Regions from separate parts of the Homo sapiens genome. Here region 1 is linked to region 2. Evidence: promoter capture Hi-C in 16 types of primary human blood cells and fetal thymus (Javierre and others, 2016). All regions are on one chromosome and are shown on one strand. The core of a region is centred on a gene start or on the middle of the fragment in contact, and the rest is flanking DNA. Distances in the headings are between cores, read along the strand shown. Region 1 holds the start of ADAMTSL2 (ADAMTS like 2). Region 2 has its middle 5.0 kb from the start of VAV2.

Region 1 (6,754 bases), core at 3,664-6,163, 460 kb before region 2:
CCAGGAGTGGCCTAAGCAGTCTCTGTTAGCCATAGACATGAGCTCCCCCAGCTCGAGCTTTCAGCGTTGGCCTAACAGAAAACGCCAGTGCTCCTGGCTGAGAAAGAAGGAGGAAGAGGAGGAGGAGAAACCAAGTTCTGTGGTCCGGCACCAGCTGGTCACCCCTGGGGGCTGCAGTCCCCTCCTCAGGGCAGGCTCTGATCGGGGGCATAGGTGTACCACCCAGGGATGTCCATTCTCCACCCGTGGGCTGAGCCACAGCAGGGTTGATGTTGGCAGGGAGCACTCCCAGAGGGGAATCGGAGTCCTGTGTGTGTGCTGGGAGGACGGAGAGCAGGCCAGCCCAGACCCACACCTCTCAGTGAACCAAAGGCTGCTCCTGACCCCTTTGCAGGCCCTGCGTCCCTGTTGGTCCCAGCCTCTTGTCTGCCCCAGCTTGCCTCTCTACGTGGAAACTTGCCCCTCTTGGGCACCACATCCCTGGGCTTGCAGGGAAAGGAGAAGCTGAGTCAGGGCTCGCAAGGCCCTGGGCTCCAGGAACAGCAGTGGAGGCCATCGGGGAGGGTCCCGCTGCTGGTCCTGGTGGGGAGGCTGAGCACGTCCTGCTGCTCTGGGCTCTCCTGGGACCCAGGTGCACCCCATCCTGGACCAATGACAGGCACCCCATCCTAGCCCCAGACATCTCACAGGCACACTCGAGAGACAATGTGAGAAAGTTGGCCAGGCTGAGAAAGTCCACTTGGACTCAGGCGGGGTCCAAGCCTTGGCCTCAGCTTCCTTCTCTGTCTGGGCGTGGCAGTGTTACCTGATGTGGCATTGTCAGGATGGAGGATGACAGCAGAGTAGACACTGGCCCCGGGCTACCCTTTGGGCTCAGAGCAAAGCACGTGCAGCCCTTCCTTTCTCCACCACCATCCCAGGCCCTTCTCCCATATGGACTCATTTCAGCCTCACAAGAGTCCAGCATGGGGAGTGCCTTATCACCGCCACTTTACAGGTGAGGAAGCTGAGGCACAGAGAAGCTTCTGCCCTCGCCCAAAGTCACCCAGCTGGAGAGAGACGGAGTCAGGATTTGAACCCAAAGAGTCCGGTTCCAGGCACTCACGCGTGAGGCTGCTGTTGCTGTGCTATTGGAAGAGCTGCTGCTTCCTATGCTGAGCCTCCACGCTAAGCCTCTGAGACGGGGCCCTTCTGAGTGTCGGGATCCAAGGTCCTGGGTTTCCTGCTTCACCTGGCTGTGACACCAGTGGCTGCCCGCCCCTGGTCACTGTGGGTGGCATGGAAGAAAGAGCTCACTGGCTTGGTGATGTCCTCCTGCCCCCAGCAGATATCCCTGACACGGGGCATCTCTGGAGGTCATGGCCGTGTGCGAGCAGAGCCCGAGGGGCTGCTGGGGGCTGGGGTTCTTCCGGTCCGCCAGCTTTCAGATGATGCTTCCAGGAGTCCTGGTGCCCAGAAGGGGCCTCAGGGCTGCTGGGGAGAAGAGGGGAAGCAGGAGCCCCCACCTCTGCTTTTGTCTCAGTTGTCTCTTGAGTGTGCCTGTGAGATGTCTGGGGCTAAAAAAGGACCTTGACCTTGTGCAACAGACCAGGAAACTCGGCCTGTCAGGGACAAGTGGCCTGAAGTGACCTGGCCAGCCAGTGGTCGTGCATGGACCTGGGACCAGCCAGGGAAGGCGGGGGAGGCTCTTCCCGTATATCCAGCCCCAGGGGGGTCTCAGGGACAGCTGGCTTCTATCCTGGGCCAGGAAGGAAGCTCGGGGACAGGGACGGCTCTTGGGGTTGCTGAGGCCCCCTCGCTCTTTCCCTGGGGCTGCCTTCTGAGTCCTGGTCCTCTTCCGGGGCTGCCAGCCACCTCCCAGCTGGCCACATGGTCCCTTGGTGGCCCCGTCCCAGTCAGGTGTGAGAACTCTGGCTGGGTCTGCCCAGGAGGCTCCTAGGATGTTCTGGGTCCTGGGCTGGCAACAGAGAAGAACCGCAGGATGCCAGGGAAGGTGGTATTGGTGGGCCACTCTTGAGGCTGTGGCCGGCCAGCCCTATCGGCTAGGTGAACCACACTACACACATACATTTGCCAGGCCTGCTAGGCCTCTGGGTGACAGAGAGGGGACCCACCTCGACAGCTCGGGCCACGTCCTTAAACTCCCGAGCCTGCTGTGGCCACTTTGCTGTGAGGACAGGCCCTGCTCCCACTGCGGCAGCCTAACATCCTCCCCAGGGAACCTCCAAAGTGGTCAGCCACGGCCCACCAGCCCCTCTGCCTCAAGCCTGCTTCTCTATCCCCGCCGTGTTTTCCCTGGAACCCCACCCTCCCGGGCATCCCCCACACATATTCCTGCTGTCCTATTTCTAAGCTCCTCAGATATCTGGAAAACACTGGCGGAGAAAATCCCCTTCTTTTTTTTCTCTCTCTTTTTTTCTTTTTGAGACGGAATCTCACTCTTTCACCCAGACTGGAGGGCAGCGGCGAGATCTCGGCTCACTGCAACCTCCACCTCCCAGGTTCAAGCAATTCTCCTGCCTCAGCCTTCCGAGTAGCTGGGATTACAGGTGCCCGCCACCACGCCCAGCTAATTTTTGTATTTTTAGTAGAGACAGGATTTTACCATGTTGGCCATGCTGGTCTCAAACTCCTGACCTCGTGTGATCCCCCTGCTTCAGCCTCTCAAACTGCTGGGATTATAGGCATGAGCCACTGCGCCTGGCCAACAATCCCCTTCTAAAGGCAGGTGGTGTCTCCAGCACCAGGGCCATACGGCTGCAACACCCCTACAAGTGCCGGTAGGTGTGGGCTGAGACCATCCTACATGGGGAAGGCCCTGAGAGGCCGGGAATTTGCAGGCCGAAGAGGGATCCTGGAGAGTGGGGGACTCACCTCAACAGCACTCTCTAAGGGGTAAGGAGCCCCTGGCATCAGGAGCTACCAGAGCACCTGCTACGTGCCAGTCATGGCTCCCTGTGGGCCTCAAGTCTGCAGGCTCTGGGGTAAGGGGTGGGGGTGGTGTGGAAGTGTGGCTGGCCAGGGGAGCTGGGGCCTGGAGGGTCACACACCTGCAGGAGGTCACAGAGCCAGGGGATGGCTGGCCCCACAGACCCGTCTCCCAGGTGGCCAGCCTGCAGCCTGTGCCGTCCTGCTGAGCCAAGAGAAGACACTGGGGGTGTTTGTGTTGGTCGGCTGTGGGGTCCCTCCCAAGGGAAACCGTTAGTCACCCTGGCGCTGGCTGGATGTGAGGCCACAAACGCCAGGAGAGCTCGGGGACTGTGCCAAGGGGTGCGAGGCCTGGCGGTCACCAGAAGAGAGAGGAAGGGGATGGCAGAGGCACCCAGAGCGAGTGTAATCCGGTCATGTGAGAGGGACTGGGTGTGTGTGTGCCTGTGTGTGTGTGTGTGTGTGTGTGTGTGTGTGTGCTGGGTGACAGGTGCCACCATGTCTGTGATTCAGCACAGCGACCCCAGGGGGCAGTGTGGGCCTGGGTTAGGGTTAGGGTTAGTCCTGGTTCCACACCGCAGGTGGCCCTGTGACTAGGAGCAGCCACCTTGCATCCCAGTTGCCCCAGCAGGAGAATGAGATGAATAAGACTTGCCTGCCCGAGGGTCCCGGGGAGAGAAACTTAAACAACCCGGCAGAGGAGAGAACCCGACACTCAGGAGCGCTGGCATCCCAGCCTTGCCTACTGGAGAGGTGACTTGGTCCCCGAACCTCAGTTCTTCCACCTGTGAAATGCAGATCATAAAGGTGGATCTGGCCTCACAGCTCTGGGCCCGTAGGACAAGCTGGACAGAGGGCAGACGGTATTATCGCTTTCACTACTATTACTGGTGGCTTTCCTTCCCAGCCTTTCTGGTGGGTGGTCAGACACAGGGCAGAACTTTCTCATGAAGGCAGCTGAAGGAACTCACAAGTTTCTTCCAGCAGGGAGGACAGAGGGAAGGAGAAGTGTCTTCCCGGCACTGCTGTGGGCCCAGGACATCTGCTGCATGGAGGCAGGGGCATGGATGAAAAGACACAGATGACCTGATGGAATGGTGCCCCAGCTTCCTCCTCCTCCCCTTTTTGGAGGTGCCTCTGTTTGCCGAGGATGGGCTCTGGGGAAGCTGGTGTGCAGAGGCTAGGTGCCCAGCCTTGCTTTAGGAAAGCCTCACAAAGTCTGGGGCCCGCCGGGAGTTTCCCAGGGGGGCTCTGCTGCTCCACCCACTCTCGCTCCCCTCTGTGCCCTGACTCAGCAGGAACAGAGGCTTGAGCTCCAGGCCTGGCCTGCCAGGGGCTGCCAAGTTGGTGCTGGACATCTGCAGAATCCCTGAGCCTCTCTGCCCTGGCCCTGGCTGCTCTAGCCATCTGGTCAGCAGGCCACGGGCACATCTGTCTCCTCCCTGGAGCCCTTGGTTCATTCTCGCTGGGTCTCCCTGCGTCCCTCCACCTGCTTAGGCCCCTGCATCTCGGGAGCTTTCTGAGGCTCGTGACCTGGGGCACGGTCGTCCCGGAAGTTCAGCCTTTCCCTCCGTACAACGGAGCCATCAGACGGGACACCTCATACATCCCAGACCCCATTCTCAGGAGCCCCAGGGACAGGGCCCGCTCTGGAGGCAGAAGCCGGACAGGCGGGGCTGGGGCTTTGCCACCGCCAGCCTCCCCGGTAACCTCAGGCCAGCGGCTGCTCCGTCTGGACACCCGACATGTGGCCCCCAGTTCTGGACCCGGGAAGAAGGCCTCCCTGCTCGCCGCTCCTGGGCCGCCGCCGCCGGCAGCAGCCAACAGGCAGCTGGGCCGGCCTGGCCGGGCTCCAGAGGCGCAGAGCGGGTTAAAGTGTGCGCCAGGCCGGCCGGCGCGGGCGGGGGAGCGGCCTGGTGGGAAGTGTGAGTGTTCCTCCCCGTCTGCCTGACAGCTATAAAGGCGGCCGCCGGCGCAGAGCCGCCACTGGGCTGCGCCCCTCCCGGGAACCCCCTCTCTTGGATGCTCTTTGAAGTGGGAGAGGGAGGCGGCGCGGGGGAGGAGGGGAAGGGGAGAGGGAGGCCGGGCCGCAGCCTCTGCACTCACGCCGCCCCCGCACGCACAGCGCACCTGGCGCCGTCTGCCCTCCGCAGCGCTCGCCCCTTTCTCTGGGAGGACAACCTGCTGACCCGAAGCCAGGTAGGCCACCTCGTCCCCGTCCCCCTCACGTTGCAGCGTCCACCAGGCCAGCCCACTGCTCAGAGTGGGGCTGGGGGTAGGAGCACCCCGCGCCCTCTGGAGCCGTTACATAACGTGGGGAGGCTTGTGGGGAGGGGTCGGGCCGCAGAGCACGGGGCAGGGTGGCCTCCCAGCACCTAGCCTTGTGCGCCCGGAGCTCTGTGTGCACGGCAGACCTCTCTGCTGCCGCCAGCCGCTGCTTTTGGACCCCAGGGAGGGATGGATCCCCGTGAGCGAGGCCTGGCCAGAAGCCAGTGGTGTCTGGAAGCCTTAATGAAAAAAGCAAGTGTGAGGCCGGCTGGCACCTGTCTTCAGCCGGCAGGCAGAGGCTGGGGCACCCGTTAGCCAATGGCACAGTGGAGGGGGCTCCTGTGGGTGTGAGGCTGAGAGTGCAGATGGAGGTCTGCAGGGGAGGGAGGTGGGGGGCAGGCGGCGGGGGCAGGGGAGGTCAGACTCAGGCTCCCCACTCCAGGGTGCACTGCTGCGTCGTCCGGGCTGCAGTGGTGTCCTTGGAGTGGCCCCTGAAAATCTGCAGGTGCCGGGCCTGCAAGGAAACTCTTCAAGTTGGATGGAGGCTGCTGAGGAGGGAGGGGCAGAGCCCGAGTTGGCCTCTGGCCTGGCAGGGGTGAGGGGTGACCTCCATGCCTTCTTCCCCTGGAATTGGCCAGGCGTGGGGGTCGAGTCCCTGAGTTTGCTAGTGTGCTACCTTGCTGTGTGGCTTTGAGCAGGTTGGCTCCCCTCTCTGGGCTCCAGGTTATGAGTGCAGGCTGCGTGGTTTCTGAAATCCCTTCTCTAACTCGCTGGCAAGTGACCCTCAGCACCTGAGCAAGGCCTGGACAGAGGTCATGGTGGATCTCTGGTCTTCCCTTCCACAGGGCAGGGTCGACGCTGAGGAGGGGGTGGGGAGAGCTGAGGGCCTGGAGGCTGGACAGTCCCTTCCAATGGGCTTGCTTTGACCCCTGGCAGGTGTTTTGAGCCAAGGGTGCTGGCTGTTGGGAGGAAGTCAGCCTTGTGGCCCTGGACTGCTGACATGCTGGCACAAACTGCACCTCCTCCTGCCCTGCCCCTCCCCCAATTCCATCTTCTCTCCGGGGATCGGGAGGCGGCATAGGTACCTGGGTTCTGCCTCACCTGAGTGCCGGCTGTTGCTGGATGCTGACTGTGGAGCTGCTGGTCTAGGGCGAGGCTGCACATTCCCCCGGGACCTGGCCAAGCCCATCCCCATGCACTGACCCTAGCAGCCAGTGGCAGAGGCCATTCTCCTGCGAGGCCAGCAAGAGCTGAGCCAGTTAAAATCCCAAGGTGCTCCTGCCAAGGCGCTGGACTGAGCCCAGGCCCATCCCTTCGAACCAGAGCCTTTCCCCCCGCCTGGGTCCCCAGCCCCCTCAGCCGAGGCTGGCTGTCTCCACAGCCCTTCTCTAGGGGGCTTGAGGACTTGGAGGCAAAGCATGGCATGCTTCCCTGCATGCCCTTGGATCAAGGGTGGCACAGGCTTAGCACGCACACCGCCGCTGGGTGTCTTGCCTGAAGCAGGCATTACTAATCATTCACCAAGCTCCTTCTTGCTAAGCCTAGACTGAGGCGGGGG
Region 2 (7,092 bases), core at 352-2,851:
CTTCCCTGCGCAGGGGCCGGAACGGGGATGCGAGCGCAGAGAGGGTCCCCTGGGCCCAGGGCCTCCGATGGGGGTCCTGTCCTGGAAATTGGTCTCTGCAGAGTCAGACTCACCCCTTCTCCACTGAGGTGGAAGCAGGGGGTCCCAGCTTAGGGTCTGGCCCGTAGAGAGAGGTCAGGAAGGAGCTGGCCCCTGCAGCAGTAAACTCAGGCCAGGTGGCTGGTGAGGCGGGGGCTCAGGTCTCTTGCCCTTCCCCGAGGAAGCAGCAGTGGGCACCTTTAGGGCAAGGGGGAGAGCTTTCCTCACCGAAGCAAGATGGGGCAGCAGGTGGACCCATCAGCATCTCCCTAAGAAATCAGAAAGCCAGGAGTGAAACCTGAGCGGGGCCCTCCAGCCCCATCTGAGAGCCTACACTGATCCCTCCTCCTGCAAAGCCTCATCCCCTCCTCTCTAGAGCGGGGAGACCCGGCTCCCACTGGACTTGCTTGTGAAGAATGGACGGATAAATTACCCAGAGGCTTCCCACTGTGCTGGGACAGAAAGGGCTCAGAGAGGAAGAAGAGCTACCCACTCTCCCAACCCCTCGCCTGGACCGCCGGCGCATTGATGCACTAAATGTCTCTTTCCCCAGGTGGCTCCCTCAGCAAGAAGGGGGCCTCTGTCCTCACGGTCCTGGGCCTGCCTGCTCTGGCCAAGAGGACCAGCCAGGTCTGGGACCCAGGCAGCCGCCCGCCAACAATGCCATGGGTACCTGCTGCCCCCTGGTGGTGCTGTCACCACGGGGCACCTGGCTGCACCCAGGAGGGGCTGCACAGAAAATCTGGGGTTGACCGTTGAGAAGACCCAACTCAGGAGACACAGACTTCACCACAGTGGCCCTGAGCCACTCAGGCCTCCCTGGTTCCCAGGTCCTGATCGGCATAGGACATTCACCGGCCCTGTGCACCTCCCAGAATCCTTGGAGGCTCTGAGGGCAGGATGGATGTGAATCAAAGAACAAAAGTTTGGTGGGGCCAGGTACAGCAGCTCAAGCCTGTAGTCCCAGCACTTTGGGAGGCTCAGGCAGGCAGATGGCTTGAGTCCAGGAGTTCAAGACCAGCCTGGGCAACACAGTGGGTCCCTGTCTCAAAAATAAAATAAAAGGTAAAGAAAATGGGGCAGGAGCTCCCTTTGTAACCTTTAGTGTGAGTGTAATGATGAACAGGTTGAGACTGTGGACTCAAGGCACATGCCAGGAAGACTAATAGAGAGGACGCTGTTTGGGAAAATCCTACCACCATCCATGTCCACTTGGACTCAGGGCTGTCTGCCAGGACTGCCTGCTGCACACCTCCAGGGGGCGAGAGTCCCATCACACCTTGGAGATGGGCTCCAGGGGGAGCTGCTTACACAGACTGCCAGTGAGCAGCTGCCAGTCCAGCCGAGCAGATTAAACCAGGGAGCAAGAAGTGCCAGCATGGGCCACATACCCCAAGTATGGGGGAGGGTCACAGGTGGCGGAGGAGGGCACCAGGCAGGGCACACCCGGGGAGGGAGCAGCAAGGCTTCCAGGAGAAACTGAGGTTTGAGTTGACAACCAGAGATTGATCATGGTTGCAGTGACTAGGAGAGGGTGACATGGAGGATGGAGAGCTTGGACAGGAGTTGATTTTTAAACCACAAAGGAATTCAGTGTTGCCATGATCTCAGGCATTGAACAATAAACCGCAGTGTCCTCCTGAGCTCCTGTCTCATTCTCCCCGGCAGCCATGTGGGCAGCGAGTCCCAGCAGTCCACCTTCCTGTTCTGTCCAGCATCTGCCCCCTCCTGGCCCACCCCCACCAAGCCCCAGGCCCCCTCTCCTTGGACCCGCTTCCACCCTTCCACCTGTCCTCCGCAGCCAGCAAGGACCCAGTCGGCCCTCAGTGACACCCTGTCTCTCTTCTGCGCGGATGGGCACCTCGGGGCTCCCGCCTCACTGGAGGTAAAATCTAGCAAATCACTGTAATTGTAATTTTTAAATCCAATATATTCTTTCATGGAAGCCACAGATGCGTTAAACTGATCCAAAGACAGCTTATAAAAGGCAATGTAATCGGAGGCTGGACGTGGTGGCTCATGCCTGTAATCCCAGCACTTTGGGAGGCTGAGGCGGGTGGATCCCTTGAGTCCAGGAGTTCAAGACCAGCCTAGGCAACAAGGTGAAACGCTGTCTCCACCAAAATACAAAAATTAGCCTGGCATGGTGGTGCACGCCTATAGTCCCAGCTACTTGGGAGGCTGAGGTGGGAGGATCACTTGAGCCCAGGAGGCAGAGGTTGCATCGAGTCGAGATCGTACCACTGCACTCCAGCCTGGGTGACAAAGTGAGACCCCATCTCAAAAAAAATAAAAAATAAAAGGCAATATAATCTTATTTATTGACTTGTGGCATATTTTAACACTATCGCTATGTGAATTAACGTTACACTACGTAAGATTGCAGTTACGTCGCACATTGTCACTTTCAAGCCGTTATATTTTAACAGCATTCATAGTTGCAGTAACCAATCCTGTGTCTTGAGTCTGAGTGGCCGGCCTAGGTGATGGTCACCTCCTTTAAACCACAAGCCACTCCATCACTTCTAGTCACTGTTATTGTACTGAGTGGTCCAACATAAAAACCAGCTCACCAAGCACATTGGTGAGCTGCCCAAGGTCACCCAGCAACACAGGAAAAAGCCAAGTCCAAACGCCAGGCCTTATTGACACCTGTGTGCACCCCTAAATAGAGGCTGCTGCTGAAAGGGCTTTCCACGCCTAGAACTTTCTGCTTTCCCTTAATGCACTGATGTGGGTGGGGAGGTGACGAGGGAGGGAAAATGATCTGATGTCTAGAACACGTGGATACGGAGTCAGCAACAGAGCGCAGTGCCTGGAGCCCACAGGCACACCCCCCCGCCCCGCCACTGTGGTACCGAAATGAGCCCTTAGTACAGGCAGGAGTAGCAAGGCTAAGAAACGGGAGCCGAAGGGTCCGACACTGACTTAAAGGAGGGAAGGGCAGCTGGAAGTATATCCACGCATCCTGGAGGTCCTGGAAACCTGGTGACTCTTGGATCCTCGGGGTCCCAGAGAGGAGACCTTTGGAGGAAGGAGTGGGTAGACAGGTGGCTGCCCTTATGTGGGCAGCATGGCTGGGCTTCCCCTCTGGCTTCTCTGCCCAGTCACTCACACCACGAGTGATGCTCCACCTACAACTCAGCACGTCCTTCCTGCACCCAGGCCCTGAGCCAGGACCACCCACACCCTAGGAGGCGAGGACTGTCATCGTACTGTGCTACAGATGAGGTCGGCTCACATAGCTTGAGTGACTTGGCCAAGGTTATGCAACTGGCAGAGTTCAGATTCGAACTCAGGTCCACCTTCTCCTATGCCTCCAGCTGAGAGGTTTGCTTTTGTTTTCTACTGATAAATAATGATTTCAAGGGCAGTGGCACAGGACAATCTGAGTCCACGACCGGCCCAGCGCCCCTCCCCTGGGTTTCTGCAGAGCTGCCCTCATCAAATTGGTGTCCTCATTCTCTGGGCAGCCCCAGGGTCTGGTTTCTGAACAGGAATACATGTGTCCCTTAGCGCGTTACATGCCACAGTGGAAGGGCTTGAGAGTTTACCTCTCACTCAAGACTGTTTCTTTCCATACAGGCCCTCCCAGAGAACCTCCATACAGCCAGAGTGGGCACTGTCTCAGTCCAGTATTCCCCCAAAAAACACCAAGACCTGCTGCAAGGTCTCAGTACTTTTCATCAAAAGGTCCAAGGCTCAGGGGACCCTCATTCCACAGCCAGCATCCCAGGGATAGACTGAAGCTTCTTCAAAGGAGCTCCGCCCAAGGCTGGAGTCTGTCCATCATCCCTCCACCTGCCCCTCCATCCATCCCTCCTATATCTTGCTACCCACTCTTCCATCCATCCGTCTCTCAACCCATCCTTCCATCCATGCCACATTCCTCCACTCATCCCTCCATCCATCCCTCCTTCCATCCATCCCTCCCACATTCCTCCACCCATCCCTCCATCCATCCCTCTCACATTCCTCCACCCATCCCACATCCCTCCACCCATCCCTCCCTCCATCCATCCCACATCCCTCCACCCATCCCTCCCTCCATCCATCCCTCCCTCCATCCCTCCATCCATCCCTCCCTCCATCCATCTCTCCCTCCATCCATCCCACATCCCTCCACCCATCCCTCCACCCATCCCTCCACCCATCCCTCCACCCATCCCTCCTTCCATCCATCCCTCCATCCATCCATCTCTCCCTCCATCCATCCCACATCCCTCCACCCATCCCTCCTTCCAACCATCCCACATCCCTCCAGCCATCCCTCCACTCATCCCTCCCTCTACCCATCCCACATCCCTCCACCCATCCCACATCCCTCCACCCATCCCTCCACCCATCCCTCCACCTATCCCTCCACTCATCGCTCCACCCATCCCGCCGTCCTTCCCTCCATTCACCCCTCCATCCATCCCTCCCACATTCCTCCACCCATCCCTCCCTCTATCCATCCCTCCACCCATCCTGGAATCCACTCTTCCACCCATCCCTCCTACATCCTTCCATCCTTCCCCATCTATCCCTCAACCCATCCTTCCATCCATTCTTCCACCCATCCCTCCCTCCATCCATCCCTCTACCCATCCTTCCACCTATCCCTCCATCCTTCCACCAATCCATTCCTCCACTGTTCCCTCCATCTATCCCTCCGTCCACCCATCCCTCCACCCATCCTTCCACCTATCCCTCCATCCTTCCACCAATCCATTCCTCCACTGTTCCCTCCATCTATCCCTCCGTCCACCCATCCCTCCACCCATCCTTCCACCTATCCCTCCATCCTTCCACCAATCCATTCCTCCACTGTTCCCTCCATCTATCCCTCCGTCCACCCATCCCTCCACCCATCCTTCCACCTATCCCTCCATCCTTCCACCAATCCATTCCTCCACTGTTCCCTCCATCTATCCCTCCGTCCACCCATCCCTCCACCCATCCTTCCACCTATCCCTCCATCCTTCCACCAATCCATTCCTCCACTGTTCCCTCCATCTATCCCTCCGTCCACCCATCCCTCCACCCATCCTTCCATTCATTCTTCCACTCACCCCTCCTATGTCCCTCCCTCCTTCTCCCATCCCTCAACCCATCCCTTCACCCATTACTCCCCCATCCATCCCTCAACCCACCCCCACATTCATCCCTCCCTCCATCTATCCCTCCACCCATTCTTCCGCCCATCCATTCCTCCACCCATCTCTCCATCCATCCACCTATCCCTCCATCCATCCACCCATCCCTCCATCCATCCACCCATCCATCTCTCTATTCATCTCTCCATCCATTAAATTCATCTCTCCACCCCTCCCCCACCCATCCCTCCATTCATCCCTGTATTCATCCCTCTGTGTATCCCTCACATCCCTCCACCCATCCTCCATCCTCCACATAGAAAATACTGACTGAGCACTGGCTTTGTTCATGAGGAAGGGCAAGTGAATGTTTTGACTCTTCCCAACATGATGGGATAAAGGAATTATTCTCATGTCCAAACCACATGAACACACACATTGTGCAAATTCCATTTGTAGCTACATCATGCAAATTCAGCTGTCACAATTTCCTGGGAAATTATAGGTGTAGAAAAAGACCATCTGGCCCACCATGCAGTCAGAGTATGCCTGACTGAATTATTGGGTGGGGGCTTTTACATTTTGTTTGAAAGGGCAAAATATAGATTTTTTACTTCTTGTTCAACTTTCAAAATTAAATCAAATGCCATAATCCATGGATCGTACCCTAAACTGAAATCTCTGAAATCTCACTGCCAAGTGGCCATTGTTTGGACACCTTCCAGTGACTATTTAGGAGACCGGGGCAGTTTTCTGTGAGCACTGCCTGGAGTCTTTGAGCTCATGAGTTCAGGGTCACCTAATCAAGGCTTTAAGGAAGGGGGAAACAGTCTTCCCTCCGTGAATGTGAACGGACTTCATGCAAGTGTAGGCCAGAGGCTGGGCAGCGTGTGGAGGTGGACTTGGGATCTCTGCAGGAGCCCTCTCATCACAGCCCAGCAGGCCAACCCAAAGCAGGAGAGGGAGGCGAGGCCCAGACCAGCTAGGAGGATGAGCCAAGACCCACATGGCCAGCTGTGAGTTATGGGAATGGGTTATGAGTTATGCGATACAAGGGGGAGGCTGGGGAGCCTCCTGAATGTGGTCCTTGGCAGACTCAGCCTGCCGAACTCTGGAAACTTTGGCTCTTACTGAAAGGGAGGCAGCACACCCTGGTGCTAGGAAGACACGGCCAAGGGACACTGGGCTCTAAGCCTGTCCATGCCCTTAATGGCATTCAATGCCACCCTGTCCTGGGCCCCTCCAGCTGTCCTCTAGCCACAGCACCTCCTGAGGCGCAGTAAGGGCACTGCCAAGGAGACATACCCACCCCTACCCTGCTAGACAGCACCCCTGCCAGACCACAGCTCACGTACTCCAACTCTGGGACATTTCTGCCACCCCCAAAGGAGACCCCGTATCCCTTAGCTGCCCTCCTCAACCCTGCCCATCCTCAGCCATGGCAACCACTAAGCTGCTTCCTGTCTCTATGGATTTGCCTGTTCCGGACACTTCATCTAAATGAAATCAGCCAACGTGTGGCCTTTTGTGCCTGACTTCTTCCCTCCAGCATGATGCCAAGTTCCATTCACCATGAACGTGCACCAGGAAGGGCTTCATTCCTTTTTATGGCTGACAAATAATTAATAGTAAGTGGAATCAACTTTAGTAATACACTGTACTTGATCCAGTATATTTGAAATATTATCATTTCAATATGTAATCAATGTACAAATCTATTAGAGAGACATTTGACATTCTTTTTTCTCGCCAAGTTTCAAAATCCAGCATGTGGTTTGCACTGATAGCGGACTTCAGTTTGAACCCTAAATTTTCATCAGACGCATTTGATATGTGTTTAGGTTTCACAGAATTCACAGTTGAAAAAGTAGATTTGCATACCCAAATTGTTTCCCGTAAACTTAGAAGTTTGCCAAAAATGAAATTGAGTATCAAT

Evidence for each region. Contacts are between HindIII fragments. The CHiCAGO score rates a contact against its expected background, and 5 or more counts as called.
Region 1: the fragment with the promoter of ADAMTSL2 here is called in contact with a fragment that was not itself captured in region 2 in 2 of 17 cell types (M1 macrophages and M0 macrophages); the score reaches 7.4 in M1 macrophages.

The regions. Positions count from the first base shown.
Region 1 is chr9:133,529,791-133,536,544 of GRCh38, forward strand. It overlaps ADAMTSL2 (ADAMTS like 2), which reads left to right and starts at 4,914. Exons shown (of 19, transcript NM_014694.4): 1 at 4,914-5,127. RefSeq lists enhancers at 179-684, 3,779-4,320, 4,321-4,860, 4,861-5,402, 5,943-6,484 and a silencer at 3,431-3,520. The HindIII fragment of the contact is 12,534 bases long and covers 1,021-6,754 here.
Region 2 is chr9:133,993,812-134,000,903 of GRCh38, forward strand. No RefSeq gene overlaps it. Among named protein-coding and RNA genes, the nearest start is that of VAV2, 5.0 kb to the left of the region's middle. RefSeq lists a silencer at 673-772. The HindIII fragment of the contact is 4,448 bases long and covers 1-3,825 here.